Linked DNA regions of Homo sapiens: all the other regions are linked to region 6. The links are contacts of gene promoters, found by promoter capture Hi-C in blood cells and fetal thymus (Javierre and others, 2016). All regions are on one chromosome and are shown on one strand. Each heading gives the region's core, a stretch centred on a gene start or on the middle of the fragment in contact. The rest is flanking DNA. Distances are from core to core; before and after follow the strand shown.

Region 1 (3,652 bases), core at 655-3,154, 1.0 Mb after region 6:
GTGTTATGACAGTTTACCATTGCCATGACAACACCCAGAAGTTACCGCCCACTTTCTAGCTATTTCTGAATAATTTGCCCCTTAATTAGCATGTCATTAAAAGTGGGTATAAATACAACTGCAAAACTTCCCCTAGGCTGCTACTCTGGGCACGCTGCCTATGGGGTAGCTCTGCTCTGCAGGAGCAGTCACAGAGCTGTAAACATTGCTACTGCTTCAATAAAGCTGTTTTCTTCTACCAGCAGCTTGCTCTTGAATTTCTTCCCCAGTGAAGCCAAGAACCTGTCCTGCATCAAACAGATTAAACATTGAAGTTTTATCATTATTACTATTTCATGAATTAGCTCAGTCATTAATTGGGTAAAGTAGTCTCCATGTACATGAAGTCTAGGATATCACACATGAATTGCTAACACAGAACTTGCGAGACCTTTTGTCATCCTTTTCTCATTCTGGAAGCTACTCTGGAAACGTAAGGGATAAAGGAGCACCTTACTTAAAGCAACATGAGTGATTCATGGCCCCTAAAAAATTGTGACTATGACAAAGCATGTCTTACACACATCCTTCTTCACCTACCCCAGGGTCTTGTGGCTACCCAGGAGCCTCATGCCGTTTCCGCATCCCTTTATAGCTTTGCTTCCCAGAAAGACCCTTTCAGAATTCAAGCACTGCCCAAGCCTTCTCTAATTTGGGATATATAATAAAGTAAATAAATAAGTGACAACATAAGGTTATTTTAAACATTGATTTAGGTGTTATAAGTTAATAGTTTAAAGGCAACAACCCACAGCTGAACTAAAGGCCCGTCTGGTTATCCCAGTGAGGCTGTCTCCAGTTAAGCAGCAATCTCCCAATAAAGCCAAACTTTCCCTTGCCTCACAGGAATTTCAACCTAATAGAGCTTAGAACCTTAGACTAAAGTAAAGAAGATTTATCCAATTAGAATTTAAACCAACAGCCAGAGGGGAGAGAGAGAAGAATTAGGACCTTGTTGAAATGTTACCACACAGGCAGCTACTTATCTAACTTCTGATTAAATACAGAGCTAAATGAAATCTCTCTAGTTTTTTGTAATAAAGGAAACCACAAATTTAAAAAGGAATATGAGTGGGATTCTATTCTTAGGTATAATGAACCATTCTTTCATTCACTCTTTTAAAAATTATTTAAGAATTTCAATAATATTTCCAGTCCCAGTTTAGGGGAATAAATCATGAAAACAGATTCTGCCCTTGCCCTTGTGGAGTTTATAGTTCAAATGGTAAGAGGCAGACATTAATTAAGTGATCATACCACTATTACATGACAGTACAATTTTGATAAGTGCCATGAAGGAAAAGTGCAGGCACTATAGTGGAATACAATAAAAGAATTTGACATTGTCAAAAAGATCAGGAAGAACTTTGAGTAAATGATAATTGGGTTCAGATATGAAGAAGGAATAGTAATAATCTAGAGAAAAATGGTAGGAGAATGTATTCTAGGCAGCAGCCCTGTGGTAGGAGCAATTGCAAAGGCCCTGTGGTAGAAGCAGCTGCATAATGTATACAAAAATAAAGGTAGTAAGGAATGGTTGGAACATAGATATTAAGAAGCTTCATGAGATCAAGAGTTGGAAATATAGGTAGGGCCCTACAGCGAACTTTTGCTAAGATTGTTTTCTTTAATTATAGAAGGAAATGGATAGTCTGAAATATTTAATCTGGATGTGGTGATCTATTCAAATTTGCATTTCAAAAATATCACTCTGGCTGCAGTAATATTTCTATCCTGTATTTAAAAAACTGCTGATGACTTTTTTGGAAAAAATAAGGTCATTGTAGACATAGAGACCTACAAACTTTATAAGAAAAAATCTTCAGAAAAGGTTTAACTTCAAGTGTTCTACTTGTGTTTTGTCTGTTGGACTAAGAAGTTCTTACGAATCTATGAATCAAATCATCCCTGGCAAGTATTTGAATATTTGATATGACACCCCTGATGAACTGTCTCAAAATCTATGTGACTCTTCCAAGACCAAGAGACTTAGAAAATCAACAAGTAGCTTAATAGTTTATCTTTGGACAGATGTCACCATGAGAAATATCTTCTTTAATATTGATCTCACGTCTTTTTTACCTATTAGTCCCTATTATATTATGATCAACTCATAGTGATCAAAAAGTTGCCTAGGGGCAACTTTACATGCAGGCCATGATGGAAGCTTGCTCAGGGCATCATAAAGACCTCTGGAGAAGAAGAAACCAGGGCTCTGGGCATGGTGATCTCTGGGAGGTGGAGGCCTAGAACCACCAAGAAAGGAATTACAGTAGTCTTCCCTTATCTGCGGTTTTGCTTTTTGTGATTTCAGTTACCTGTGGGCAATCATGGTCCAAAAATATTAAATGGAAAATTCCAGAAATAACTCATCAGTTTTAAATTGCAAGCCATTCTGCATAGTGTGATGAAATGTCACACCATCCTGTGCTGTCCCTCTCCTTCCCACCAGGCACGTGACTCATCCCTTTGTCCGGTATATCCACACTGTAGATGCTGCCTGTTAGTTAGTTGGTAGCCATCTAGATTATCTGATCCACTCTCTTGGTATCACAGTCTTGTGCTCAAGTAGCCCTTGTTTCATTCAATAATGGGCCCAAAGTGCAAGAGTAATGATCCTGGCAATTTGGATGTGCTAAAGAGAAGCCATAAAGTGCCTCCTTTAAGTGAAAAGGTGAAAGCTCTCGACTTAATAAAGAAAAAAAAATCATATACTTACGCTGTTAAGATCTACAGTAAGAATGAATCTTCTCTTCATGAAATTGTGAAGAAGTACAAAGAAATTCATGCTAGCTTACCTCCTACCTCAAACTTCAAAAGTTATGGCCACAGGACGTGATCAATGCTTAGGAAGGAAAAGGAATTAAACATATGGAAAATCTGAACAGAAATTAGTTCTGACTGATGGCCATCGGGTTTGGTATCATACTATATGAGATGTCAGTTATCCCCTGGGGGTCTTGGACCATATACCCTGGAATAAACAGGGATCAGGGGAGGAATACTGTACCTGATTGTAATGGTTTATATACCACTAGTCTTTTATGTTGTTCAAAAGTGTATAAATTGTGTCTTCAGCTCCTTCAGTATAAAAATAGAATATATATTTTCTGCAATTCTGGCTTTTAGTGTTAATATGGTATATTTTTCCATGTGTTCACTTTTAATCTGTCTTCATTTTTACATTTAAAGCAATTTTCTTGTAGACAACATATACTTGAGCTTCTTAAATTTACATATTATTGCGATAAGAACACTTAATGTCAGAGTATCTGTCTTTTAATGGGAGTATTTGGATCACTCACATTTGAAGTGGTTAATAATATAATTGGATTAATATCTACCATATTCCCAACTATTTTCTATTTGTTATCTGTTCTTTGTAACATTTTTGCCTTGCAGTCCTTTTCTGCCTTCTCTGGTTTTAATTGAACATTTTACATAACTGCATTTTGTCCTTTCTCTTAGCATATCAGCTATACATTTAAAAAATTATTCAGTGCCCTAGAATTTACCATATACACTTCCAAAAAATCTAAGTCCACTTTCAAAGAACAGTTTATGGGTGACGCAGGTACTTTAAAACAGAGCACTTCAATTCATCCCTCTTTCC
Region 2 (3,727 bases), core at 1,000-3,499, 1.1 Mb after region 6:
TAGAGGAATTGTTGATTGAATTTTGAGACATCTAACTGATGGAATATCATGGGATATTCAATCGATCCAATATATGTTTTTGAAAAAATTGTGAAGACACAGGTAATTGTTTGCAATATATCATCAAGTAAAAAAAAGCAAATGTGTAAAAAATTATTGAAAACATACGGGCTAACTCTGACCCTGTAGAATATATTTTTTCATCTCTAAAAATGCAGAAAAATATTATTTTATCTAGTTCATAATCTTAACAGTGTGTATTAACTAAGATAGTACATGTGAACTAACTGGTTCTAGAACTTACACATGGTGAATCTTATGTAAATATCAGCTGCTGTTGTTAAAAGGTTAGCTTTTATTGGAGTATTAAGTCAGAAACAGGGTAGAAGGGAATTCTGTTCTTATTCAAAGAGTTCAAAGAAGTCTTTTCTTTCTCTGTATCTGCAGAAATCAATGATAACAAAAAATTTCAAATTTATGAAAGGGAAAGTAAAAAGTTTATCTTCCTGTTTCCCAGTAATGAATGAATTGACATTATCAACGTGGCCAAGACAATCAAACATCAGGTCTATCAGGTCTCGAATGAAGTATCAGTTGACAGCTGTGTTCACTAGCCAAAAGTAGAGTGAAAAGAGCCAGTTATCCATACATTGGGTCTAGCACCAGCCTCTGTGTATTTAGTTCCTTGTGATAGCCACCTGAATGCTCTCTACTGTGTAGGCACTTTGGTGTCTGTCACAAGAGTAGGTTACACTATTTCCAAGCCAATAGGGAAGTAAAATTGTGCCAAGGGGCCTGTCAGAGGCTCAGAAGTCACCTGAGAGGAGGCAAAGCTAAAAAATAGAATCCAAGGTTCTATTGGAGAGAGATGGATGCTCACATCAATGAACTGATGAAGGAGAGAGAGACACACAGAGAGAGAGAACAAATGAATTTCCTCATACAGATGTACTAGACATGATGAGGTGGGTTTGGTTTGATATTTAGCATGCACATAAGTTTTCTAATACTTCCCATCTTTTGAGCCCTTTTGCTTGTTTGTTTACCAAGAAATCTCTTAGTCAAGTATTGTATTCCTTATTTTACATACGTGGAACTTGATGTTCAGTAAATTTAAATGACTTAATGCCTCAGCTAGTAAATGCAGTAGCAAGGATTCAAAGAGATGCCTTGATTCTTCCAGTTTTCTCTTGACCCCCAGGATACTATAAATGTAGCTTACCTTCACTGGGCTCACAGATTGCAGTTCAGCAGTTCAGTTCACAATTTAGTTCACAATTTCCACATCCCTATAACATCTAAAAAGCTAATGCCCAGCCTCATAGTATTACAGTGCAATAGAGAGAGACATAGATGTTCATTCTCTGTTGTGATAGTTCTACAATGATGCATTTTACATGAAGCTTTCTCATTCACATCCACTTGAAGGAACTATTTCTGAAACTGCTTTCTTCTTGGAATGGGGTTAACAGATTGGGGTCCCTCCCAATCTGGAAGAATATAATGAGATCACAAGGTCAAATTCCAATGTCCCATTGAAAACAAATAAATGAAAAAAAATCTACAGAGTTACAGTTCTGATTCCACCTATATACATTAATTTTTAAGCATCTCATTTTCTTCTAAGATCACTTAACAGTTTTCTTCATGAATAATATTGGTGGATAATTACTTTTCATTTGTTTAACTTAAAAAAATTAAGATTTTTTTTTCCCAAATTAACAGAAGCAAACTTCAAGCTTCCACTTGTAGAAAGACCAGCATTAAGTAGCAGCTTTTTCAGCTCACACTCATTAAAGTTGTGATCATGTTAGGGTTCATTTTCTAGCCTCAACACCATTACATCAAGTACCGTAACACATATAGGACATAGGTATTTAGCTCTGACTTGAAATAAATATATTGTGATTGATCCAAGAATAGTCTAATTAAAAGCAGAATTATGGTATTAGATTTGGAAACGGTATGTTGGAGTTGTCTACACAGTCATTGCATCTTTTAAAAATCTTTTTTCAATTTCTCCCTGCCCGTTTCAAACTAATATTTATTATGTTTTTAGTGTCCCCTTTTTCTATAATATAATAAAGACCACTAGATGATAAACACATAACATTTGAAGTTGAGGTTATATGAACTCTATATAGGGATAGTCAAAACACTTTTCAGTTAGAGTATCTTGAATAGAATGAAAAAGGGATTGTTTTAGTGGGTTAGAAGGTTTCAAAGGGTGATTTCAATGGTCAGAGCCAGTTTTATCATTCTTTATAAATGGCAAGGAATTGTTATTAGAATAGCTCATCTCAAACTGAGACCACCTTCCTAGGTCTGCAGCATCCCGACAAGAGTACTTTTTATCAATTTTTATTTTGATGAACATCAAAAAATACTTTATTTATGTTGTGGATTATCTGATGGTCCTATTTTAATCAAATATCTCAAAAGAATTTCAGCTTTCGCATTTCTTATAATTGAGCCCAAAGCTGAAGGAACAAACATTTTGCAATATTTTGATTTTATAAATAGGTATTGGGTAATTGAACTATCACACAGCACCTGGTAAACTTGAACAGCAATGACAAAACACATGCTATGGCAGGCCTTGTAGTCATGTTTGAGAGAATTTATCACACTTTATTACAAATAAGTGTAGCAATAAATATGCAACAGAATTTTTCTTTTTTTAAGAAAATCAACATCAGGCATTCATTTAATTCCAATTTCAGCAATGCTATAATATTCAAATAAACAGGAAAGCTTTCCAGAATTATCAAGTGATATTTCATCAAACAGGTACTTAAGAATTTCTCACCATCATTTTTACTTGTTTTATTTAAGTAGGCAGTCTGGTGGACCTGAACTAACAAACAGGGTCTTAAGGTTTTAAACGATATTTTGATAATATAACTAGGCAAGCCAGTATTTTATGCATTGATATTATTAAATTCAAAATACAGAAATAGATTAAATGTAGACCCAGAGCTGAGATGCCATCTTCCACCATAAGCATGACATGGCGAAGAAGCCACTGGAAAGCATTCCAGACACCTGGGATCTAGTCACAGAACTTTCTCTCGCTGTGCTATTTTGAGGACACTATTTAACCTCCGTAAGCCTCAGTTTCAAAACCACTAAAGTGGCCGGACGTAAGATTATTTCGCATGTCTCTTCAAATTCTAACATGCTATGCAAAGAGATGCCCTAGGCATCTGATGTAAATTGATGCATAACATTTTTAGTTCTCCAAAATATGTAAACCCCATGAATAGTGTATTTTTTGTCATATTCCAAGAGTATTATTAATCTTCAAATTGAAGAATATGGTGAGTGATTCCAATGTTATTCTAAGTAAATACCTAAAAAAGCACCAGAAAATTCATTAACCACTATTATTTGAAGATTATGTTCCAGTAATCTTCTGAAAGCATACATAATAGGTATAATCCCAAATATTTTAATATGGTAGGTACTCCATTAACCATTACATTGTTTGATAAAGCTTTAAACAGTAGTCAGTTATTTCAAACAAGAAACATGCATGTAAACTTGATGAAGACAATATATGCATGCCTTGGTGTATTGAAGTGATAGAGATGAGTTACTGTGTCTATGTTGATGAATACTCAAAGTTTCTAGGTCCTCTGGGACATTAATTAATTAGAAAACAAACTCTTACTATTTTTATGAATAGCTTATCACAGGACACGCTTCCAACATACTTCTTCCTTTG
Region 3 (3,932 bases), core at 1,224-3,723, 1.1 Mb after region 6:
CCTTTGGCTGTTTACTTAGTTGTATATATTTGCTTTGGTAGTTAATACCTGGCTTCTGGATTAGAGATGGAGAATTATTACAAACATAGGAACTTAATTATTCTTTCTCTTTCAGACCCACTTTTCACTCCAATCATCTGGGGTCACTTGCATTATTGCCAGGGGCAGCCTAGTTTCCCCTTTACCTGCAGCCCCCTCTGGATTCCATCAACTCATCTGTTTTTCATCTTTCAGAGATATTTTAAGTGTCTGCTGATGTCTCACTTTCTATTATGCTTATGGTTGTAGGATTAGATCATTTTCATTCATTTAACATCATTATAATGGCTATCAATGGATAGGAAATAAAAGTGTTCACTCTTGAATTAGAAGTTGACAACTTTATTACTGATCCAGGAAAGGATATTAATAAGATAAGATTTAAATGTTTATAGTGCATGAAATTGAAAAGGAAAGCTGAAGAGTAAAAGCCAATTGTAAAGGCTAAATTCATTGCCAGGTATTATTATTATTACTGTTATTTTTGTTGCAATTGCTCTCATCATCATCATCATTATTCCAGATACATATTTATTTGCTATAAGACAACCCAACTACTTTTCACTGTGTCCTCTGTTGCCATCCTAGTCTAAGTCACCATTATTTCTCACCTGGATTACTCCAAATGCCTAGTAAATGCTTCCATGCTTTTCCTATTATCCAGTGAAAACATGGTTATCAGAGTAATCTTTTAAAAATAAAAATCAGATCATAAAATGCTCCAATTGGTTTGCCAATCTCTTAGAATAGAACCAAAATCTTGTAATGAGCTATAAGCCTATATAACATACATCCTGCCTACAGTTTGACTTCATCTCATATTTCTCTTCTTTCTTATTTCCTATGCTCCAGACATTTTATCATTTGCTTTAATCACACTAGTTTTGGTTTAATTCCTTCAACTTGCCAAAGCTTGTCCCTAGAGCACCCTTTACATGGATGGCTTTTGCTCACCATTTGTCTCACATCCAGCCCCTTCCCATACCTGAGAGGCCTTCTTGACTACTGTACCTTATTAGAGCCTCCCTCCCAGTTAATCTATGTAAATCTTGATCATTTTTTAGTCTATATCTCTATGGACATTCTAGACATTCTATATTTATATATTTGATTACATGTTTAGCATTCATCTCCCTCAGAAGAATGTAGGTTACCTGAGGAAAGGGATCTTTATTTTCATTGTACAGAACCATGGTCCTGATACCTAATAGGGACTCAGCATAACTGGTTGAATGATAGGTATTGCATCTCTTCTTATGAAAAGTATACAGACTTTGAAAGTTTAAATAACACCCAAGTTCACACATCTGGTTAATGATAGAATTGAAGTCAATCCAAGTATTTAGTTAGGATTTGGAAAGTCCATAATTTTTTTAAAGCATAATGGCTCAATATAAAATACATCTATGTTCAGCTCATTTAACTAAGGCAAGTATTGGTCTCTAAGAGGTGGCCGTCCTCAAAAGGCAGTCAGAGACCCAGGTCCTTTCCATCTGTGGCTCTCCATTCTCATTGCTGTATCTAGCCAACAAAATGGAAAAAAGAGCATGGGATATTTTTGTGAATCAAGTGTGGAAGTGTTACATACACTCACATTCCACTAGCTAGAACTCAGTAATATAATTTATATAACTACATGTAACTGCAGGAAAGTTTGGGTAGTATGGTTATTATGAGTTAAATTGTGCCTTGCAGGCAAAGATTTCATGACGAAAATGCCAAAAGCAATTGCAACAAAAGCAAACATTGACAAATGGGATCTAATTAAACTAAAGAGCTTCTGCACAGCAAAATAAACTATCATCAGAGTGAATAGACAACCTACAGAATGGGAAAAAAATTCTGCAATCTATCCATGTGACAAAGGTCTAATATCCATAGTCTACAAAAACTTAAACAAATTTGCAAGAAAAAAAAAAAACCATTAAAAACTGGACATAAGACATGAACAGACACTTCTCCAAAGAAGACATTTATGTGGCCAAGAAACATGAGAAAAAGCTCTACTTCACTGATCATTAGAGAAATGCAAATCAAAATCACAATGAGATACCATCTCCCACCAGTCAGAAGGGCTATTATTAAAAAGTCAAGAAACAACAGTTGCTGGAGAAGCCGCAGAGAAAAAGTAATGCTTTTACACAGTTGATGGGAATTTAAATTAGTTCAATCATTGTGGAAGACAGTGTGGTGATTCCTGAAAGATCTAGAGACAGAAACACCATTAGATCCAGCAATCCCATTACTGGGTGTATGTATATACACCCAGTAATGATTTATAAAGAATATAAATCATTCTATTGTAGAGACACATGCACATGTATGTTCACTGCAGCATTATGCACAATAGCAAAGGCATGGAATCAATCCAAATGCCCATCAATGACAGACTGGATAAAGACACTGTGGTATATATACACCATGGAATACTATGCAGCCATAAAAAGGAACTAGATCATGTCCTTTGCAGGGACATGGATGGAATTCGAAGCTGTTATCCTCAGCAAACTAACACAGAAACAGAAAAGCAAACACTACATGTTCTCACTTACAAGTGAGAGCTGAACGGTAAGAACACTAGGCGGAGGGAGAGCATCAGAAAAATTAGCTAATGGATGCTGGGCTTAATACCTAGGTGATGAGTTGACCTGTGCAGCAAACCACCATGGCACACGTTTACCTATGTAAGAAACCTGCACATCCAACAAATGTACCCCAGAACTTAAATAAAAGTTGAAGAAAAACTAAATACATAATAAATAAAAAACATAAATAAAAAATAAATTGTGCCTTTCAAAAAATAACATTGAAATCCTAACATACAACACCTTAAAATGTGACCTTATTTGGACATAAGGTTATTGCAGATATTGTTATTATAGTTATGTTAGGGTGAGATCATACAACAGGATTAAGGTTGGTCCCTAGTCCAGTATGACTGGTATCCTTAGAAGAAGATGGCCATGTAAACACACAAATAGAACGCGACATGATCATGGAGGCAGAGATTGGAGAGATGCACCTACAAGCTAAGAAATGCCAAAGACTTCTGGCAACCACCAGAAGCTAGGAGAGAGGCATGGAACAGCTTTTCCCTCATAGCCCTCAGAATGAACCAAACCTGCCAATACCTTGATTTCAGGCTTCTAACCTCCAGAACTGTGAAAGAATCAATTTCTGTTTCAAACCACCTAATGTATGCTTCTTTGTACAGCAGCTGTAGGAAACATCCATGTGACCTATATGTGTGCCCAGGAAGAAGAGGAAATGGATTTTGTTGAATGTTGAGCAGCTGCTTCCATACCAAATCTGACTTCAAAATGTATGCTCTATGATGTTGCTAAACAAGATGAATTTTAATAAATGAAAATTGATTTAAATTCAAAATAAACATGCTAGTAGAAGAGTCAGGGGAAAACATGACTTTACAGCAGGACATGAGGGAACCAGCAGGAATCTGTGCTTGCCATGAGCTCTGTGTGAGTGATGCATGACATGAGAGAGATGAGATGATAGAAAACAGAAACAGATACCAGTGTGTCCAGAAAAGGCTTTGCTCTTTTTTTTTCAATATAACCATACCAGAAATATTGTGCTTAGAGCTGGAAACCTTAAAATAGGAGCTATGTAGATTCAGCAAAGCCTATACAGAGGAAACTATCTGAGGTGGAGAAGGAACTGAAAACTTTCCACTATTAGGACTGGGTGAACGGACGGGCAATATTTTGCTCAGAGACTAAGCCATTCAATGAGTGATAGTTTTTTGCAAGTATTTTTTTAAAAGAGAAACAGAGATAATCTTTGTTTTATTTAAGCCCAAAAGGTGGAGCTAGGACCTTTTGGTCTAATAAATTGCGATTAGAAAGACAGAATTTGACTCAAGATGAGAATGC
Region 4 (3,789 bases), core at 822-3,321, 1.1 Mb after region 6:
ACTTTCATTTCTGTGTAGCTACGAAATCTCAGAGGTCTTCTGATGAAGAAGCCCTTTAAAACACTGCTGCCTTTTCTAGCATGTTAAATGCTTGGACATAACCCAAAATAGTCCACATCCCTGTAAACTGAGAACAGGATTCATCATATACTAGGAATGCAGGAAAATGAGGCACAGAGGAGGAAAACACATGTGGGATTTCACAGGGCACATTATGAGTCTAAGTTGCTCTTTGTATTCAAACTTAAGATAAAAATCCAGAGCTTATAAAATCAAAAGGCCTGATACAATAACAAAAGCCATGAAGGGATTTTCAGGCTTCTTCCAATTCTGGTATATTGAATCAGTTCAAATGAAGAAGATGGATATTTAATTGGTTAATCCTTGAGTAAAATTTCACTTTTATACAGCTCAAATTCTATAGATAGAAAGTAAGGGGAAAGGCCAAATTTTTATTTAACTGATACTGTGCATGATTAAAGGAATCACTGAAATGATAAGCTTGACTTTATAGATTATTCATACAAAGATAAGGCAATTAGGCATAAACACATACATATAAGTGCACATTTTAGTCGTTCTCTCCCTCTCCCAACCCTCTCCCCTCTCTCTCTCTCGTGCTCTCGCTCTCTTTTTCTCTCTCTTCCCCTCTCTGTCTCTCTCTGTGTCTGTGTGTCTCTATCTCTAAAACCTGTATAATGAATCTTAGAACTATTGAAACTGTAGCTTTCATGGATTCCAGTGCAAACATGATTGTTTATAAACTATTTTCCCTATTATTTGTTTTGGGGACTATGTTACAGAGGGTTGAGTTTGGTAAAAACATAAACTTAGATACAGCTTTACTGTTATGAACTGCTTTCAGTGTATCAATTTCCAGAATCAAGGAAGAAATACAAGCTTGCTATAATGCCTGTCTTCCTGAAAAAGGCCTTTTACAGAATTTAACTAAACCTGACAATAATTTACCATATCTTCCTGAGTGAAATTAAATATAAGAAAAAAGCCCCTCCTGAAGAACTGCATTGCATAGTTCACTTTTTTAAGGAATTTTAGATGTTGATCATTTATCCTAAAATGTTTGCTTGAAATATTTAGTTCTTTTGAATGGAAAAAAATTACTTATTCCCTTCTTTATATATAAATTAGTCTAAATAGAAATTACATAAAATTTCAAAAGATTCATTCAAATCTTTGTCTGTTACTTTTTGTTATGAACAGCAATTTTTTAAAAAGTAATATAATAATTTTGCATTCTGGTTATTATTCAATACAGAATTACCTATTACGTGTTGTCTCTGGGGAAGTATAAAGAAGAAAACATCATTCTGAAAGTCAAGACCAAAAAAAAGAAAGTAGAATAAACTACCACAATTCTTTTTCTCAAACATTTAGTTACTATGTGTTTTGAATTATATCCCACAACTTCCTCTCAAATTAACTCCCTCCCTGTGGTTCACTTATTTGTCCACTCATAGAACAATTTTGAGTGTCTCCCATGTTTTATGTGTTAAGCTATTGTCTGAGTACATGGAGATTAAATGAGTGGTAGGCCTCACCCCCCAAAACATCTAGCAACTGTAGGAGACATTTAAAAACTGGCAATAAGAACATAATTGGAAAGGTGATCATGGTAGAGGCCCATAGTTACAAAATTTCTCAAGAGCACCTCACTTTATCCAAGAAAGTTAACAAAGTCTTCAAAGAAAAGATACAATTTAAAGTCTTTAATAGCAATTATTATTCAAGAAGTTTGAAATGTAAATTAACAAAAAGATACTGAAATGACTCAAAGGTGCCAGAGAGTATGCCTCATCAGAAAACTGCAAGAATTTCTATAAAGCTGGTTAAGAGTGATCTCTTGAGGTTGTAGCAAAAGATTAGATGGAAATGTAAGTAGGGTACAGATAATAAGGGCCCTGGTAAATATCTAAAACTTTGGACTTTTACCTAACTTCAAAAAGGAGCCACTAAATGATTTTAAGCATGTGTTAATAAGACTTGCATTTTAGAAATATCACTCTCACAACTATGTGGCTGATAATCCGACTGGGGTTGGGGAAATTAATTAAAAAGCTGTTCTAGTATTTTAGAGAAATAAGGCAGGTCTGAGCTAATGAAATCTAGTTGAAATGGGGAGCAGAGGAAAGATCTGAATGCTATGTGGAACATAGAGAAGATGGGACTAGGTGACAGATTGGATGACATAAGAGAAAAAGAAGAGTTTAAGATTACCCTCAAATTTCCAACTTGGAACTGAATGAATGTGATATGATTCTTTAAGATAAGAAATACAAGGTTTGGAAGTGAGTTTGGGTTGAAATATGGTGAGTACAATTTTTGAAATATTATTAGGTCTGAAACAGTTTCATATAACTAGGTAAAAATGTTGATTAAGAAACTGAAAACACAGGTCTAGAACTGAAGACAAAAACGTCAGTTGGAGGGTGAGCATCTGTAGTTGATAAAAAATATTTTTGTGGATAAGATCTGTGTAGAATATTCAGAACAAAATAAGCAAAAAGCTACCATCACATTACATTTCAGTGTGTTAACTATACATTAAATTTATGTCAGAAACATTTCTTAAAAGAAAGGCAGAGAGAGAATAATGAACCCAAGCATTTGTTATATTGATTTTCCCATTGAGAATATCAGAGTGTATTGATATGGTCATTGACATGACCCAAGAAGGAATAGTTTTAATTTCCATGTCTGTTAAGCCAGTACCTAAGCTCTCCTTCTCAGATGTTCTATTAAAGGTTCAGTGTCTGTCCTTTTATGTGTGATTTGGATTACCCATCTGCTATTTTATATAGAAGCAGAAATGAAATGGAGTGGCAAAATAACTTGTTGAAGTTCATCTGATATATTCAGATGAAAATCAGGCCTAAACATTAAATAAGGTTGACATTACATTTATCATTATTGTGAGAAAACAAAATGAGTGAATCATATTAAATACTGCAATGTATCAGCATGTATATTTTAAAGGCCCCAGAGAATATGACTTGGTTATCTTTGGCTAAAATAAATAACAATAGCAAAGTCACTCCTATGTGCTCAACAGTTCATTTCCTTTTGTTCCTAGGAACAAATTAATCTACATTTTCCAATGTCTTGCAGTTAGATGGGCTTGAATGATTAAACTTTGTTTAATGCAGTGTAGGCAAAAGTGAAGTAAGTCACTTCCAAGCAGCATTAGTTTCCTGTTGCTGCATAAGAAATTGCCACAAGCTTAGCAACATTAAAAAATACAAATTAGTCCCAGCGTGGTGGCTCACGCCTGTAATCCCAGAACTTTGGGAGGCTGAGGTGGGCAGATCATGAGGTCAAGAGATCAAGACCATCCTGGCCAACGTAATGAAACCCTGTCTCTACTAAAAATACAAAAATTAACTGGGCGTGGTGGTGCACACCTGTAGTTCCAGCTGCTTGGAGGCAGAGGCAGGACAACTGCTTGAACCTGGGAGGCTGAGGTTGCAGTCAGTGGAGATCGCGCCACTGCACTCCAACCTGGTGACAGAGCAAGATTCTGTCTCAAAAAAAAAAAAAAAAAATACAAATTAGGGTGGGTGCAGTGGCTCACGCCTGTAACAGATCACAAGGTCAGGAGTTCAAGACCAGCCTGGCCAATATGGTGAAACCTCATCTCTACTATAAAAATAAAAAAATTAACCAGATGCGGTGGCTCACACCTGTAGTCCCAGCTACTCAGGAGGTTGAGACAGGAGAATCACTTGAACCCGGGAGGCAGAGGTTGCAGTGAGCCAAGATTGTGCCATTGCA
Region 5 (3,830 bases), core at 329-2,828, 1.1 Mb after region 6:
TCCCTCCCACCACCTGTTCTACCCTCCTCACCACCACCATCCTCACCACTCCCTTCACTATCTACTTACTTATTTACTTTTTTTTTATAAGAGGGCATTTCAGAGAGTAGTGGTTCAATTACATTTGTAACTTCTTTCCTGTCAGGAACACATTTCATTGGCACCTTATTGGTGCATGCTATCTTGTTCAAGTGGTTCCACTACTTTTTCTAATTATCTTGGATGGATCTTCATGAGCAGCAAGGAGATGTACAAAGGTCATAGTTGTCGTGGATGATAAACCATAATTCTTAGGCTGGTAAATTTTTGCTATGATTCAATAGCAAACATTTTGCTAAATTTTTCAATTTAGCAACATTCACATGTTTTCTGCAGAGATGTTTACTCATGTAGCACCATTCAATATGGTTATTGAAGAAAAATATCAACTAACCATTGATAAATAGAATATTCTATTTTAAGAATCATGGTACCAAATACTCAGTGACTTAAAATGAAACTTAAATTTATAACTAATTTAAACAAGTAGCTTCAAATTAATTAATTTATTCATTATGTACCATTATATGTCAAACATTGCTTTACATGCTTATATATGTTATGCCTAGTCTTCACAACTTTTCCAGATGTATATCACCTCTACTTTATATGTGGGGAAACTTAGGTTCATTAAGTCCAGAGCTCCTTATAGCCTTTTGATACAAGTGGCTTAAATATGATTTAAACTTAAATCTATCTCATTTAAAGCACCTTCTAGAAAGAATTATTATTTAAAAATATGAGTTTAGCATACAATTTTTAAAAATCTGAATTCACACTTAAGGAAGTTGGGAGAAGAAAACTAATAATTTCTGATGGAGAGTTATGGAGTTTGTTTGAAGTATCAGAAATTTCCAAATGGAATAGTCTAGGTGGCCTTGGGGACTATAAGAGTGAAGCTTGAGTAGACTCAGGTAGATTTGAGAATCATCTGTTTAGTTATAATTTTTTGAAAGCTGGAGAATAGATGGATAATGCCAGTGGAGAGGATGTAGAGAGTAGAGAAAGACAGACCAAGAGAGGAGCTGTGATGCCCTCATTTGGGGTGGGAAGACGAAAAGTGGGTCAAGGCCTGAAATGAGAAGCCATAGTGGCAGGAGGGCCACCTGGGCAATGTTATGTCAGGACAGGCAAGAAGGTGAGCTTATCAGAAAATAAACCATCAGTATTGCTGTGTCCTACAGGGAACCTGGGTAAGGTGAACTGTGAAAGGTGACAATCTTCAGTGGGCTGTGCTTCTTCAGGTAATACAGTAAAGGAAAAGGAGCAGGGGAGGTCAGGACATTGAAAACTTTTCTCTTACGTATATTATCCAAGACGTCCCAATGGTGAGATTTACTCATCCTAAAAGGGAGGACAATTATTAAGTTCTGCCTCTTAGGGTCAATTCTACTCAACAATAGGCCTTGGGTAATTTATCTTTGGCAACTACCAATCTTTCTGTGTTCACGTCAGTTTTCTTTTCCCCTATGTGCATAGGAGTAGAACACTCTCCTCTTTGTTGCAGGCATAGAGATATACTATTATTTGCTTCTCCTTTTCTGTGATTAACAGTGATCCTCTTTAATCATACTAATTATCTGTGCCATGTTATTTCACTTTTCAAATTAAAAAGAACTGCCACCTCTACTTTTTTGGGATTTAATTTTTCAAAAATTACTCCGTATTAGGTAATATTATCCCTATTTTATGGATGAATAACTTTAAATAGAAACTGCATATTATGCATTCACTCTGTACCAGGAACTCCGCTAAGTATTGCATGCCCTCAGTTTCATTTAGTTCTCATAAATTTAACAATAATAAATGAAAAAGGATAGTCAGTGTGGCAAAATCTCGTTGAATTTGAGTGATGGGAATATCGAGGCTCATTACACTGTTATTAACTTCATGAATATTTGAAATTTTTATGAAAAATTTGAAAATCCTGACAATTAGTGAATTTGAACACTTTTTCATGTACCTGTTGGCCATTTGTATGTCTTCTTTGGAGAAATGTCTATACAGGTCCTTTGGCCATTTTAAAATCAGATTGCTTTATTGTTATTCAATTGCATGAATTCCTTGTATAGTTTGAATATTAACCTTTTATCAGATTATGATTTGCAAATATTTTCTCCCATTTCATAGGTTTCAATTTCATTTTGTTGATCATTTTCTTTGCTGTACAGAAGCTTATTAATTTGATGTAGTTCCACTTACTTACTTATTTTTCTTGTTGCTTGTGCTTTGGGGGTCATATACAAAAATATCATTGCCAAGATCAGTGTTATGGAGAATTTTCTTAATGTTTTCTTCAAAGAGGTTCATGGTTTTGAGGCTTACATTTCAAGTTAACTTTTTTGAGTGGTGTAAAATAGGGGTTCAATTTTATTCTTTTGCATATGGATATCCAGTTTTCCCAACACTGTTTATCAAACAGACCTCACACCTGGGATGGCTGTTATCAAAAAGACAAGTGATAACAAGTGGCAGAAGGAAGTAAAGAAAAGGGAACTTTTGTGCACTGTTGGCGGGAATGAAAATCAGTAAAGCTGCTATGGAAGGCAGTAAGGAGGGTCCTCAAAAAATTGAAAATGCAATTATCATAGGATTCAGCAATCTCACTTCAGGATATATACTTGAGGGAAACAAAATTAGTATCTCAAAGAGATATCTGCACTCCAGTGTTTATTATAGATTTTTCTTTCTTTATTTAGAGACAGGGCCTTGCTCTGTCACCAAGTGTGGAGTGCAGTCACAGCTCACTTTAGCCTTGAACTCCTTGGCTCAGGTGATCCTCCCATGTCAGCCAGCTGAGTAGCTGAGACTACAGCCACACAACATCATGCCCAACTAATTTAGATGAGGTCTTACTATTTTTCCCTGGCTGGTCTCAAGCAATCCTCTCACCTCAGCCTCCCAAAGTGCTGGGATTATAGAGGTGAGACACAGCACCTAACCTCACTGTAGCAGTATTTACAAAAGCCAAGACATAGAAGCAACTCAAGTGTCTGTAGGTGGATGGATTAATAAAAATATTGTGGTATATTTATATAATGAAATATAATTCAGCCATAAAAAAGAAGAAAATCCTGTCACTTGTGACAGCATGGATGAACAATGAGGACATTATGCTAAGTGAAATAAGTCAGACAGAAAGACAAATCTGTGAAGCAGAATCAGAATGGTGGTTACCAGAGAGAGAAAATGGGGAGATGTTGGTCAAAGGGTTAAATTTTTCAGTTTTAAAATGAATACGTTCTGGGGATTCAATGCACGTTATGATGACTATGGTTAGTACTACTGTACTGTATACTTGAAATTGTTAAGAGAGTAGATCTTAAATATTCTCTGTGCACACACACAGAAAAGACATTTGTGTAAGGCTTCTAAGAGTGCTGTTTCAACACTAAAAAAAAAAAAAAATCAGTTGTGAAGCCTATGTTGCTTCATTTTATAAATGGAGAAACTGAGACTCAGGGAAGTTGAATTATTTGGCCCCAGGTATTTATACCACAGGTATATCCCATGGCAGTGTAAAACTGGGGAAATATGAAAAGAGATAAATGCAATGTAATGATTAACTGACTGATATCATGGTCATAGACATCTTACGGCTTTTGTCCACAACTTCTAACACTAACAAATAGCCACTTTGCAAGCACAGGAATATTCATTGACAAGCCAGGTGAGAGCACAACTTTGATTCAAAGACTGCTTTTAACCAGTATGCTGCAGTGCCTGTGTGCCCGAGACAGCATTTGGTGCCATTACTTACCTCATTTATGGTTCTCACAGCAGCCCTATAG
Region 6 (3,797 bases), core at 874-3,373:
CACCTGCCTCCTTCTAGACAGGGGCTGGGGCCCTCCACATGAGGCCTGCTGTCCGTAGCCCCTCCACGTGAGGCCTGCTGTCCCTGGGCCCTCCACATGAGGCCTGCTGTCCCTGGGTCCTCCATGTGAGACCTGCTGTCCCTGGGTCCTCCACGTGAGGCCTGCTGTCCTTGGGTCCTCCACGTGAGACCTGCTGTCCCTGGGTCCTCCGTGAGGCCTGCTGTCCTTGGGCCCTCCATGTGAGGCCTTCTGTCCCTGGTCCTGTGGCTGCATCTTCCGGTGGATGCAACCACGGCCACATATCCATCTCATCTCTACCACATCTGAGTCACAGTTTCTAGACCAGAAAACTCTTGCTAACGTTTAGGATTTAGACAGCATCTCTTTGCTTCTCTTTTCCCAATTTTAGACTTCCCTTGTAAGGAATGAAAACCATTATAATTCTGAGAAACCTAGGCCAGACAAAGCCTCATGGCCATTTTCCTCAGCTCATAGTGCCCTACTAGGCCAGGGGCAAGGTCACTCTCCCCGCAATCCACCCATCCTGCTCCAAGTCAGGAGCCCTCACAGAGTTTCTCAGCTTCCCACTAGTAGGTCTTTGTTCATCGCATTCTCCCACATTGAAGCAAATTGGAGCTACCTTCTTTTTTCCCTCCTCTTGGGAGTTGCTTTATTTTGGGTTTCTTTGTACAAATTGTTGCCATAGCCCTTGATGGGAAGGATCAAGATGGATCCTCTCATCCTTCCCCTTACTGAGCAGAAGTGTCTGACCCTCTGGCCTTCTATGAACCATTGGGACCCACACACAACATGTCAGATCCAAAGAGCACTGGCCTCCGAACATGGAAGTAGGTGGGCAACTGAAGGAAAGGTGAATAGTGAGAACAGGGGAGGGGAGGACAAACGGAAGAAGGGAAGGGCCGGGAGATAAGACATTGACATGTGCAGTGAGCTTAGCTGGGCATGGTGGTGTGAGACTGTAGTCACAACTCCTTGGGAGGCTGAGAGGAGAGGGTCGCTTGAGCCCAGGAGTTCACATCTATCCTGGGCAACATAACGAGACCCTATCTTTTAGAGAGAGAGAGAGAGAGAGACCAGAAGTCCTGGACATAGCCAGGCTGTGGGCAGCCCACGGATGAGGTGAGATGTCAATGTGATCACCCCTGGAAGTGAGAAGGAAGGTACGGTGGGGTTATTGAATACACTGTGTCATTCAATTACTGTCATCGTTTGGATTTTATATGGGATGGGGGCTGGGAATTCCTGGTCTACTTGTGCTGGAGAGATGTTTAGGCTTTCTCAGATGGTTAATAGAGGGCACCAGCAGTTGTTTGGTGGCATTGGAGGAGCAGCTTTTTGTATCCCAAATGACCCTTTTCAGATAAAATTGAAGCTGGATTGAGACTTCGGGAGGATAAGTATAAAGTTGTAAGTGGGTGGGATAGAGAACAGCCATGCGAATGTCAAATCTCCTGTCTTTTCACTCCTGTCTTAGGCCGAATGTGAGGTGCCCCGTTCTTTCCTTTGGTGGAGCCTTTGAAGATTTTTCTTTTCTTTAAAGCTCACTTAGCAGTTAAAGACTTGAGATGGGCTGTAAAGCTGTGAAAAGCCTGGGAGGAAATGGTGTTGACATGAAGGGGTAAAGCCAAGCTTGGAGGGGTGCCAGTGGCAGGGACCCACACTAATTCCTCTTGTTCTTATGCCCTTCTAAATATGTCTCTGAAGCACAGGAGAACATTCCTAGGGAAAAACAACGTCCACTCACCTCATTCCAAGAAAATCTGTAACAACGTCCAATTGTCTTTGAGAGGAAAGAAGATGACATTGGGAGACACAGCATCTAGAGGAAAAGCGAGAACCACTGGTCTTCCTTTCAGACTTCACAGTGGGATCTTGGCGCCTCGGATAAACAAAGGCACTGGCAGGAAGGAAAGCGAAAATCAGAGGAGAGGTCTGGCAGGCCACAGCCAGAGCAGAGGCAGTGGGTGAGAAAACCCTGGGTTTGAGGACCCTGGTTCTCTTCCCTAACAGCCTTTGGGTCCCTCTTTCTGAAACAAGGCTTGAGAGCATGTCCTCTGGCCTGGGGGACTTGGGTGAGTCTGAGGCACCCCAGGTAGCAACGATGGCAGGTTTTGCACTTGAGCTGGGGAGAAAGCCAGTGGTGCTGAAAGCAATGGAGATTGAGGTACAGAGATCTTCCTGCCGAACCCATTCCCAGGCTTTCTGCCTTTCTAGGAATGGAGAGAGAGAGAGAATGCCTTGGCTGGTTTCCTGAAATCCAGTTCATGGAGCCACAGCCCCAGTGAGTGCTCACTCAAGAAACAAAGGCTCAAGAGAGGACAGGCACCAGCTAGGAAACTCCACTCCGAAAGGGATCAGCTGTTGCACTCACAGGCACACTGCTTTGGTCCAGGAAGTCAGTAAAAGGCAAACAGGATCCCAGCGAGGTCATTTGTTTTGGAGAAGACAGAGGGAGGAGGAGGGAGGGGCAGCCGTGTGAACGTGCAGTTATGTCAGGGCCTCCCCAGATCCCTGGAACGTCCTGCCTGAGCACAACAGGGAAAACCTCCCCCTGCTCACTAGCCCTCGGGAAGTACAGTTCTCACTGAATGTCTGTCAGCATAATTAAAAAATGAACACCCTTCCAATCGCAAGATCAACGCCAAGGGTTACCTTCCTGGGGAGCTGTCCAGGGGGAGCATGGTTTCCTAAGAAAACTTTTGTGATCTGTGTAGAATATTTTTGCCCCTATTTTTTTTTTTTTCTTCTGAGACAAGATCTGGCTTTGTTTCTATCAGGACATGTTTGGATGTTCTTCCAGAAAGTCTACTGGTAAGAGAGCTCAGTTGGTCTTCTAGGAGAGATAATTGTTGACATATCAGGGGCCAAAGGCTCATCTCTTCATTCCCTGCACTTGGGGAAGAGGTGGCATCATTTCACCCTTAGAGCACAGGATAAATATTATGATTATTCAAGCAAAAAGACATTCTACTGGCTACTTTTGATTTAGCATTACAGTTTCTAATTTATCCCAAAGATGCACTGACAGAAATGGAAAGATGTATTCACAAGGCCACCTATCACAGCACAATTTGTGTATTAGAAAAAACTCAAATGTCCATCAATAGGGGACCCTCAACTATGGTACATTCACACAATGCAGTAGTACACAGCTGTAAAAAAAAGAAGAAGAATATCTCTACATGCAAGTATGAAAAGATTTCCAAAATATATAGTTGATAAATATTAAGATATAATCGTTAAAACTCAAAACAAAATGAAAAAAGTCAAACCTAACTAGATATTGAGTTGGTGGCACATCCTCTTGGGAGAAAGTATTTCAAGTGACATTAAAACCTGGGAATTGACTGTAGACCTCAAGTGGGATATACCCTTAGAACAAAAGGAACTGCAAAAACACACACACACACACACACACAGACACAAACTTCAAATGTTTCCAGTAATTACATCGTCATGGAAAGTTTTCCTATTATTATTCTGAGACTATTGTATATGTTTCCCAGTATAAAACAAGTGAGTAATATGTAGGTGTTGTTGGGAACCAGAAATTTAGGTTGAAAAGAGATGTAAATTTAAGTGGGGTCAAATAAAAGCCCTATAGTCCTGAATCAGACTTTGAATTGGAAACATTCAATTATAAATATGATGTTTTATCTACATTATCTATCTATCTATCTATCTATCTATCTATCTATCTATCTATCTATCTATCTACAGATCCATTCATTAACCTACCCCTAATCTCCTAGCTTTGTTCCCTGAAAAGGCCTAGA
Region 7 (3,394 bases), core at 434-2,933, 1.0 Mb after region 6:
AGACAGAGGCTTGGGTAGTGATGTAACTTCAAAATAAAAGGAAAGGTTGGGTGATATCAGTTTCTGAAACTTCCAATTAGAAGGAATAAGTGCATCCTTCTGTGCTTTCTATAATGCCATGTGTTGTGATGTGCTGTTGCTCAGTTAAGTTCGATAATACTTTTCCAAGAGTGATGCAGTGACTAGCTTCAGGAGAATTTTAATTCAAATGCAATGGCCAATATTGTACAGTGTCTCAAGAGATCAAATTCCATTTGGCAGTCTGGCAGATGGATAAAAACATGTTGGTCTACTTTAAGACAAAGTCACATTTTACTAAGTGGCAAAGACTGTAAATATTAATAGCTTAATAATAATAACTAATAATATTTAGAAAGGCAATTTTAAATTGATTCACCAAAAGATATTTAGGGCTGAAGAACTTAATTCTGCATTTGTATACATACTTAACTCCATGATTTATGTATTGATAATCAAAAAATGTATTTAGCCAGGTCAGTTAGACAGCCAATATAATTTAAATTTTGCAGCCTTAGATCACTCTTAAAGTATATGTTTATTATTTTATTATTAAAATAATCCCTAATCCTATTTCTATGTTATCAATAAGGACATTCTATAGCAGAATTCTAAGCAAATTCTGATGGCAGAGATTTCTTTCTTTCTTCTTTTTTTTTTTTTGAGATGGAGCTTATACCTTACACAGAAAAACAGGAAACAAGTTCAAATTTAAGAAATAATATAATAATTTTTAAAAGTTCTGAGAACAACCTCTGCCTCTTGTTTAGCCTAAAGTATGTCAATTGGCAAGTGCTTTTTGGATTACCAATACAAGTGAAAAAATGCTATTCAGCAAGATGCCGCCTGTCAGTCACACCCTGGTCCTTGGCCACCCCTGTGCAGCCAGCTACAGGACCTTTATGGATCACTAGGGGCCTTCACTACACTTCTGGAGAAGCTTAAGTCCTCTCCATGGAAACACAGGAGCTGACTCAACCCCCTCGCTGTGCATTTTTTTCATCCTCCACCCTACTCCCCCAACTATTTTTTTGTTTCGCTTGTTCCATACTGAGTAATCTTTTTCTGTCTTTTGGTTACACTCTTTAAGTCCTGTTCAGAGAGTTAAGTGCAAATGCTAGGCTCCTAAAAAGCCTATTTTCTGAAGTGAGTAAAAATTATGGGCAAAAATGAACAATATGAAATAACCTTTTCAGTGGGAACCTTGAAAGACATGTTGATATTTTAAAGAGCAAAGTTTGCCTTATCAAGCCCTGAATGCCTAAAGGGAAAAAAAAAAATAAGAAAGAAACAAGCTCTATGTCCTTTCCAAACTTTCACCTTACCTTGACAAATAGACTCTTGCTGTTACCCTTTGTATGAGTTTTCTACGGCTGCCATAGCAAAATGCTACAGACTGGATGGTTTAAACAACAGAAGAATTTTCTCACAATTTTGGAGGCTGAGAGTCTGAGTTCAAGGGGTTGGCAGGTTTTGTTTCTTCTGAGGCCTCTCTCCTTGGCTCCCAGGTGGTCGCCTTTTTGCTGCGTCCTCACATGGTCATCCTCTTTGTCGACTGTGTCCTAATCTCCTCTTTTTATAAGGGCACAGTGGTATTGAGTTAGAACCCACCCTAAAACCACATTTTAACTTAAGTACCTCTTTTAAGGTTCTATTTCCAAATGCAGTTGATGGCAACAGCTGCTGCCATTACCCCGGCTGCAGCAGAGAGGAGGGCTGGGGCTGCACACTCTGTGGAGTCAGTGGGAGCCCCACTCCTTCTGATTTGGGGCAGAAACTTCCCGGGTGCCACTGCAGCCGCCCAAACCTCAAACCTCGGCAGCAGATCCAGGCCCCCTGCTTCACGTAACAGGCAGGAGCCCCACCCTCCTGCAATACGTAGCGGGGCTACATCAGCCAAAACTGCAGCTGTGGATCCGAGCCTTCCTGTGCTCTTGGAAGGGGCTGGGAACAGGCAGGATCTGCCCTCCCTGGTGCAGTTGCAGCCACCCAACCCGCTGCTGCTGACCTGGCCCTCTCGCTCCACGAGCAGGCAAGGGCCAGGAACAAGCAGGAGCCCCGCCCCTTCCGAGTTGATGGGGCTGGAGCTCCCTGGGTGCAGCTGCAGCGGCCAGACCCACGCATCTCTGCTGCCTGCCCCCTGGCGGCTGGGAAGGCCCGCATGTCTCTTCAGGCTCCGGGGTATCTGATCCCGCTGCCCGGTCTCTCTCCTCTCCTGGCACCCGCTGGGATCTCAAAGCTGGGTTGGGGCCCAGCCCTTGGGCCATGAATGGCTGCAGGAGGCAGAAAGATTCCTGTGCCGAAGGGGGTTGGTCCCTGGTAAGGCCCCTCCTTCAGGAGTTGCCCCCTGCGGGTCTCCTCTGAGCTGTTAGAACACTCAATAAAGCTTCTCTTCATCTTGCTCCCCTTCCGCTTGTTTCCATACCTCATTCTTCCTGGATGCAGGACAAGAACTCGGGCAAAGGCACCACCTGCCACAGACGTTTCCACCTGCCACAGAGATATTCCACCCTAAATATCCTGTAACACAGTCACATTCTAAAGTACTGGGGGCCAATACTTCAACATATGAATTTGGTGTGTGAGGAGGGGCACAATCCAGCTAATAATACCCTTCAACAATATCTTAATGTTTATTATCTTTGATGATAATTTTTTATAATTGTGTCACGGTACATAATTGTTGCTATTGTACTGTTTAAAATAAAGCATTGCAAATTTTAAGACAAAATACCTTTTGTTTTGTTAGTGGACATTTTGTTACAGAAACATTAGCGATGTCTTTTTGTGTCTACATTATAATTTAGTTCAGATCCTTGATCAGTGTCCCTTTAAAAACATAGTATAAGTCTAAACTTTAAATCTTAAGATGTTACCTGTATTAAGTATCTAATATTTTCAAACTGACTGACGTCTTTATTCTGTAGAATACCTTCCAAGATTTTTGTTGTTTATTTTTTATGTGATATACGTAGTTACAATATTAAAGGATATAAAATTTCATAAGAAAGCATAAAAGGGAAAGAAAGGACATGGTAGTTTCTAAAGTGGGAGCAAGAGGAGGAAAAATGAAGAATATAGCCAGAAATGACAAAGAAGTCACTGTCAGATGGAGTACTAAATTGTCTACAGCTTGTGGGAGGCAGTGGAATGGCAGGTATCAAGGTCAGGTGTCCACAATCGTGTATGACACACGGGCCGTTGCTAACTTTAAATAGATTAATGATTGTGACCTTTCAACATGAGACAGTGAGCTTAATTTTTTTAAATCGACGGCAGGTTACATATTCATTTCATCTAAGGTGGTTTTCTGTGTGGCCATTTTTAAAAACTGTAGTTCCATATTATTTTGCTCATGTCCATAGTACAGATATCT

Evidence for each region. Contacts are between HindIII fragments. The CHiCAGO score rates a contact against its expected background, and 5 or more counts as called.
Region 1: a contact is called between a fragment that was not itself captured here and the fragment with the promoter of LINC02880 in region 6, in 3 of 17 cell types (total B cells, M1 macrophages and M0 macrophages). The highest score is 5.8, in total B cells.
Region 2: a fragment that was not itself captured here is called in contact with the fragment with the promoter of LINC02880 in region 6 in 11 of 17 cell types (M0 macrophages, M2 macrophages, M1 macrophages and 8 more); the score reaches 48.2 in M0 macrophages.
Region 3: a fragment that was not itself captured here is called in contact with the fragment with the promoter of LINC02880 in region 6 in 4 of 17 cell types (M1 macrophages, naive B cells, total B cells and 1 more); the score reaches 5.8 in M1 macrophages.
Region 4: a contact is called between a fragment that was not itself captured here and the fragment with the promoter of LINC02880 in region 6, in 10 of 17 cell types (neutrophils, total B cells, naive B cells and 7 more). The highest score is 17.7, in neutrophils.
Region 5: a contact is called between a fragment that was not itself captured here and the fragment with the promoter of LINC02880 in region 6, in 7 of 17 cell types (monocytes, neutrophils, M1 macrophages and 4 more). The highest score is 7.4, in monocytes.
Region 7: a contact is called between a fragment that was not itself captured here and the fragment with the promoter of LINC02880 in region 6, in 2 of 17 cell types (M0 macrophages and M1 macrophages). The highest score is 8.0, in M0 macrophages.

What each region holds. Positions count from the first base shown.
Region 1 is chr6:112,861,828-112,865,479 of GRCh38, reverse strand. No RefSeq gene overlaps it. Among named protein-coding and RNA genes, the nearest start is that of RFPL4B, 520 kb to the right of the region's middle. The HindIII fragment of the contact is 608 bases long and covers 1,601-2,208 here.
Region 2 is chr6:112,781,601-112,785,327 of GRCh38, reverse strand. All of the region lies in intron 1 of LOC107986634 (a long non-coding RNA gene), which reads left to right. Among named protein-coding and RNA genes, the nearest start is that of RFPL4B, 440 kb to the right of the region's middle. The HindIII fragment of the contact is 1,015 bases long and covers 1,742-2,756 here.
Region 3 is chr6:112,841,869-112,845,800 of GRCh38, reverse strand. The region is part of intron 1 of LOC107986634 (a long non-coding RNA gene); the gene reads left to right. Among named protein-coding and RNA genes, the nearest start is that of RFPL4B, 500 kb to the right of the region's middle. The HindIII fragment of the contact is 3,040 bases long and covers 954-3,932 here.
Region 4 is chr6:112,798,712-112,802,500 of GRCh38, reverse strand. The region is part of intron 1 of LOC107986634 (a long non-coding RNA gene); the gene reads left to right. Among named protein-coding and RNA genes, the nearest start is that of RFPL4B, 450 kb to the right of the region's middle. The HindIII fragment of the contact is 2,337 bases long and covers 903-3,239 here.
Region 5 is chr6:112,822,424-112,826,253 of GRCh38, reverse strand. All of the region lies in intron 1 of LOC107986634 (a long non-coding RNA gene), which reads left to right. Among named protein-coding and RNA genes, the nearest start is that of RFPL4B, 480 kb to the right of the region's middle. The HindIII fragment of the contact is 1,275 bases long and covers 941-2,215 here.
Region 6 is chr6:113,902,713-113,906,509 of GRCh38, reverse strand. It overlaps LINC02880 (long intergenic non-protein coding RNA 2880), which reads right to left and starts at 2,123. Exons shown (of 4, transcript NR_027060.1): 1 at 1,766-2,123. The HindIII fragment of the contact is 3,143 bases long and covers 1,653-3,797 here.
Region 7 is chr6:112,878,788-112,882,181 of GRCh38, reverse strand. LOC105377950 (a long non-coding RNA gene) reads right to left here and starts at 2,065. Exons shown (of 4, transcript XR_942885.3): 1 at 1,344-2,065. RefSeq lists an enhancer at 1,515-2,043. The HindIII fragment of the contact is 1,446 bases long and covers 961-2,406 here.